Linked DNA regions of Homo sapiens: region 2 is linked to region 1. Evidence: promoter capture Hi-C in human tissues and cell types (Jung and others, 2019). All regions are on one chromosome and are shown on one strand. The core of a region is centred on a gene start or on the middle of the fragment in contact, and the rest is flanking DNA. Distances in the headings are between cores, read along the strand shown. Region 1 holds the start of EPHX1 (epoxide hydrolase 1). Region 2 has its middle 22 kb from the start of LEFTY2.

Region 1 (2,844 bases), core at 42-2,541:
TTCCAGGACAACGAGTGTTGCCTGTAGGGGCGGATCCAGGCTTTGCGGAACCTGAAGTTTAAACAATGGGAGGTGGGCTATGGAGGGGGCATTCAACTTTAAGAAAAAAAAGTCAAAATTAGGATTACAACATTGCTAGGCACCCCACCTCCAAGATCTCGGGAGCCGCCAGGGCAAGGAAGGAGCCAGAAGCTCAGAGAAAACCGACATCTGCCAGGGAGGGAGGCAGGCGGCCACTCGGTCTCCGCGGCGCTTTTGCTCAGGTTGACCACATTCCCTGGCTTCAACTACAAGGTGAACTCCCGGGCAAGTTTCCTGTTCTACAAGAGGAGAGGGCTGGCCTTCAATCCCGAGACCAGAGCGAGGGGGTGCCGGGCGGCGGCTGCGGCAGCAGATGGAGATGAAAGCGCATTTCAACTAAAAGGTGTGATCAGTGTCAGGCCTCTGAGCCGAAGCTAAGCCATCATATCCCCTGTGGCCTGCACCTACACATCCAGATGGCCGGTTCCTGCCTTAACTGATGTCATTCCACCACAAAAGTGAAAATGACCTGTTCCTGCCTTAACTGATGACATTGTCTTGTGAAATTCCTTCTCCTGGCTCATCCTGGCTCAAAAGCTCCCCTACTGAGCACCTTGTGACCCCCCCCACTCTGCCCGCCAGAGAACCCCCCTTTGACTGTAATTTTCCTTTACCTACCCAAATCCTATAAAACGGCCCCACCCCTATCTCCCTTGGCTGACTCTTTTCGGACTCAGCCCGCCTGCACCCAGGTGAAATAAACAGCCATGTTGCTCACACAAAGCCTGTTTGGTGGTCTCTTCACACGGACGCGCATGAAAATCAGTGTTCCGACTTGGGTGACAAATTAAGTGCATTTCACCGCCGAGCGAGCCACGGCCCTGGAAGCAGAGCTCGCCCAGGCCAGGGGACGCGGTGCGCTCTCGGGGTCGCGAGCCTCCCTCCCTGCGGCGTCCGCCCACAGTCTGGGACGCGGAATTCCCTGCGAGAAGTCCGCGGTCGCCTGCAGGCTCCTTCCCCCAGTAGGCGGCACGCGCAGTCTCCTGGCCGGGGCAGGAGCTGGGGGCGGACCAACTACAAGTCCCTCTGCACCCCTGCGGGCCGACCGCAGCCCCGACCCCTCGGCGCCCCGGCCCGCCGCCCACCCCGGCGGCCGAGCCCGCGCGGAGCCCGAACCGCGTCTGCGTCCGGGGAGTGCGGGCCCGGCCGGCCCCGGGCGCTTACGGTCTCGGCTCGCAGGCTCCGGCGGCGGCAGGCGCGCGATCTCTCCGGCTCCCTGGCTCTCCTCGGCTAGTTTTCAGCAGCCCCGGCGCAGTCTCCGCCCAAGCCCGGCCTCCGAGCGGGGCGTTCCCCGGCCTGGAGGACCCGGGAAAGTCTCTAGGCCTGCCTAAGGCTCCACCTCTGCCAGGGATAAAACGGGCTACTTAAAGGGCGGTCCGCGGCCCCGCGGCCAGAAATGGAGAGAAGCGTTTGGCAGCTCCTACAGCAGTTTGATCCCGTAACTTCGTCAGTTGAATCTAAAAACAAAAATCCAAACTTGCATGATGTATGTCCTTTTTTTTTTTGGAGACAGAGTCTCACTCTATCACCCAGGCTGGAGTGCAGTGGTGCGATCTCGGCTCACTGCAGCCTCAAGCGATCCTCCCACTTCGGCCTCCAGAATAGCTGGGACTACAGACTGCGCCACCACACCTGGCTAATTTTTTAAGTTTTGTAGATACGGGGGTCTCACTTTGTTGCCTAGGCTGATCTTGAACTCCTGGGCTCAAGCGATGCACCTACCTCCGCCTCCCAAAGTGGTGAGATTATGGGCGTGAGCCACTGCACCTGGCGGTGTATGTCTTTTTAATTTCATCTTTCTAGCAATTCATTCTTAGTATATTTAACAAACATATTGGTCCGTGACATGCTTGGAAATCTAAAAACAAATTAGTGTCTTTATACAGAGAATGTGAGAAGCAATGGTCTGAAGCACTCTTGGGGGTCTTCATGGTGAGGACCAGTATAGGATGCTGAGTTCAATGCCAGGGGAGCAACCTCTTAGTGAATCCCCTCCCGCTTTGGAGAGAGCTCAGGGCCCAGGCGGGTGGTTGCTGGGGCTCTTTTAGCTTCCGTGAGAGCGTTGATCCCCAGCCCCTCATCGTTAGAAAGCCTGTCCCATCGCCTCTGCCATCACCCCTCCTTAGCTTCTCTCTTCACCTGCTCAGAGGTGCAGTTCTTTCAACCACCAGCATCCTCACGATCTCGGTGGACAGACTACAGCTAGGAGGCCACATGCAGGGCCCGTGGCTGGAGTTCTAAGCTTCTGACTGTCACCTTGCACACTTCAGGATAAGGTTCACCACCACCCACCTTCCCTTGGCCTCCAACCTTTCTGCTCACCCTGGCCCAAGAATTCTGGCCGGCAGACGCACTCACCTCACTCCCACCTCCAAACTTTTGCTCTTGCAGTACTGCCGGACAGGGTGCCCTCCTCCATCCACATGTAGAGTCCTCTTGTCCTTTAATTCTACACCCTCCTATAAAAGCTTTCTCTTGCAACTGCAGTCTCTGACATCTCTGTATTCCTTTCAGAACCTGCAGTCTGGGAGAGTTCTTTCCCCTCCCCTCCAAATAGTTCACACAGAAGCTCTGCCTCTGGCCACTTCACCAGGGGACCCAAATTCGTTACTCTTAAAACTGCAGTGATGGTGAAACAGGTAGGAGTCAGGACTTAACGCCAGAGGTGGGGCTTGGACACCAGATTGAGGACCAAATTGAGGACTAGCTAAAACAGGGACTGGGTGGAAGATGAGCATAAGATATGCCCATCATATCAGTGTG
Region 2 (2,841 bases), core at 250-2,749, 150 kb before region 1:
ACTCCAAGCTGGGGCCCTGGGGGCCCTGGGGGTGGCTGCACATGTCCGCATGTTCCCATCATCGTGGACGGGCACTGGATAGTTGTAGGGTGTGGCCTCATTGATCATGATGGAATACTTGGTGTAGGGGCTGAGTGGGGGCAGAATTACAGTGAGGCTCCCGATGACGAAGGAGACCACCAGCACTGGCTCCTTGGCCCAGGAGTTCTTGAGGAAGGCGCCAAGTCTCACAACCATCTTGGTCTCGGCTTTATATATATATATATATATATATTTATTACAGTGGGAGTGTGTGAGTTTGTGTGTGATTAGAGATTTCATCTCACTATGTTGCCCAAGCTGGTCTTGAAGGGCTCAAGCAATCCTCCCGCCTCAGCCTCCCAAAGCACTGAGAATAGAGGCATGAGCCACCGTGCCCGGCCACATCACGTATTAACTTGCATTTCCCTGATGACTAATGAAGCCAAGCATTTTTTCCTGTTGATTGGCCACGTGGATATCCTCTTCTACCATGTGCCTATTCTAGTCTTTTGCCCATTTTGTGAGGTTTTTTTTTTGCCATTTTTTTCATTGAATTGTCTGACTGTCCTTTTCTTATTGACTTTTTTTCTTTTTTTTTTTGAGATGGAGTCTCGCTCTGTTGCAGTAGTGCGATCTCAGCTCACTGCAACCTCTGCCTCCTGGGTTCAAGAGATTCTCCTACCTCAGACTCCTGAGTAGCTGGGATTACAGGGGCCCATGACTATGCCTGCGTAATTTTTGTATTTCTAGTAGAGATGGGGTTTCACCATATTGGTCAGGCTGGTCTCGAACTTCTGACCTCAGGTGATCCGCTCACCTCGGCCTCCCAAAGTGCTGGGATTACAGGCGTGAGCCACTGCGCCCAGCCTCTTATTGACTTTTAGCAAGTTTTTCTATATTCTGGATTCAAGTCCTTTGTCGGGTATATGAATTATGAATATCTTCTCCCACACTCTGGCTTGAATTTTCATTCTTATTGGTGTCTTTTGAGGAACAGGACTTCTTAAATTTAATATAGTTTAATTACCAAGTTTTTGTAAATAAGAATAGCCTAAATCAATACTGAGAAGTCATATTATAGCTGTTATACCGGTAACAAAACAAGAAAGCTAATTTTGAAACTTCCCTGTACTGCTGAGGATTCTGGGAAACAAATACACTCATTTCATTGCTCAAGATTTTTTTTAATTTTTAATTTTATTATTATTATTACTACCATTATTATTTTTGAGGCAGAGTCTCACTTTGTCGCCCAGATTGGAGTGCAATGGCGCGATCTCGGCCTACTGCAACCTCCGCCTCCCGGGTTCAAGCGATTCTCGTTCCTCCACCTCCAGGTGGGAATACAGGCACCCACCACACCCAGCTAATTTTTGAATTTTTAGTAGAGACGGAGTTTCTCTACTACAGAGAAAGGAGAGGCAGGCCAGGCTGGTCTGGAACTCCTGAGCTCAGGTGATCCGCCCGTCTCAGCCTCCCAAGGAGCTGGGATTACAGGTGTGAGCCACGGTGCCTGGCCGAATTATTATAAAATATATAATTTTTAAACATTTGATAAGCTCTTGCCCTAACCCTTCCTCTCTTACAGGGCGTCTCATAGTCGCTGCCTGAATCCTCCGGCTTGACGTTAAGTTAGAAGAGCAGGAGTTTTTCCATTAACCAGTTAGGGACTCTGGGCAAGTCCTTTGACCTCTCTGTCCTCGGTTTCTTCGTCTGGGAGGACCCTCTGCACCCCCTGGGTTTAGAGAAGATATGACCGTTCAGCAAAAGCACCTGAAGACAGCGCTGCAGAGGCACGGTCAGCACCGTGATTCCCATGTCTGCAGCGACCCCTGCTGGCTGCCGGCCCGGGCTCGGGGTCCACCGAAGCCCGCCTCCAGCCCCTACTTCTGTGCTTCCTGGAGGGCACTGCCCAGGAGCCTGGGCAGCTGCAGGTGGGTGGGTCCTCTGAGTCCGTTTTCCCCAGTCCTCCCTTTCGTCTTCTTTCCTCCTTCCCCCGCTACAGCCTGGGGTGGGACAGGAACCCCGAGAGACCTCACACAATTCTTCCCGGTAACTATCCCCCACCCTTGGACATTGCTTGACCACTTTAGTGTGCAAGACCTTTTTCACGAATACTCTTTCACTGGCGTGCTCAGAAGGAAATTTCTTTGAATGTGTGGGTTTATGAAGACAGCTTATACAGCCAAGAAGTACTTCCTTCAGAAACTAAAAATTCCGGCCAGGCGCTGTGGCTCACGCCTGTAATCCCAGCACTTTGGGGGACCGAGCCGAGCGGATCACAAGGTCAGGAGTTCGAGACCAGCCTGGTCAACATGGAGAAAACCCATCTCTACTAGAAATACAAAAATTAGCCGGGCATGGTGGCACATGCCTGTAATCGCAGCTACTCGGGAATCTGAGGCAGGAGAATTGCTTGAACCCGGGAGGTGGAGGTTGCAGTGAGCAGAGATCCCGCCACTGCACTCCAACCTGGGCGACAGAGTGAGACTCCATCTAAGAAAGAAAGAAAGAGAGAGAGAGAGAGAGAGGGAGGGAGGGAGGAAGGAAGGAAAAAGAAAAGAAGGAAAGAAAGAAAGGAAGGAAAGAAAGGAAACTAAAAATTCTAAGACATCCCAAGGGAGGATAGGACTCTTCCCCTAGACATCCCCTCTAGGGGATGTGGCGGGTGGGGTCTGGACCACAGGTTCTGGTGCCTTGCTTCATTCTCCATCCCCACACTTCATGGAGTTGATGTTCTCACATCTCATGGTTGATCAAACGGAGTGTCCGAGTGGTTAAATAACTTGCCTAAGCTTCTAAGTAGGTAGGTGAGGTAGG

Evidence for each region. The method cuts DNA at HindIII sites, captures the fragments that hold promoters and counts their contacts. A contact is called where the count stands out against the background at its distance.
Region 2: a fragment that was not itself captured here is called in contact with the fragment with the promoter of EPHX1 in region 1 in 1 of the 25 tissues and cell types used here (psoas muscle).

What each region holds. Positions count from the first base shown.
Region 1 is chr1:225,808,571-225,811,414 of GRCh38, reverse strand. EPHX1 (epoxide hydrolase 1) reads right to left here and starts at 1,291. Exons shown (of 9, transcript NM_001136018.4): 1 at 1,246-1,291. RefSeq lists a silencer at 1,114-1,333. The HindIII fragment of the contact is 8,152 bases long and covers 1-2,844 here.
Region 2 is chr1:225,961,577-225,964,417 of GRCh38, reverse strand. It overlaps the pseudogene NDUFA3P3. Among named protein-coding and RNA genes, the nearest start is that of LEFTY2, 22 kb to the right of the region's middle. The HindIII fragment of the contact is 6,601 bases long and covers 1-2,841 here.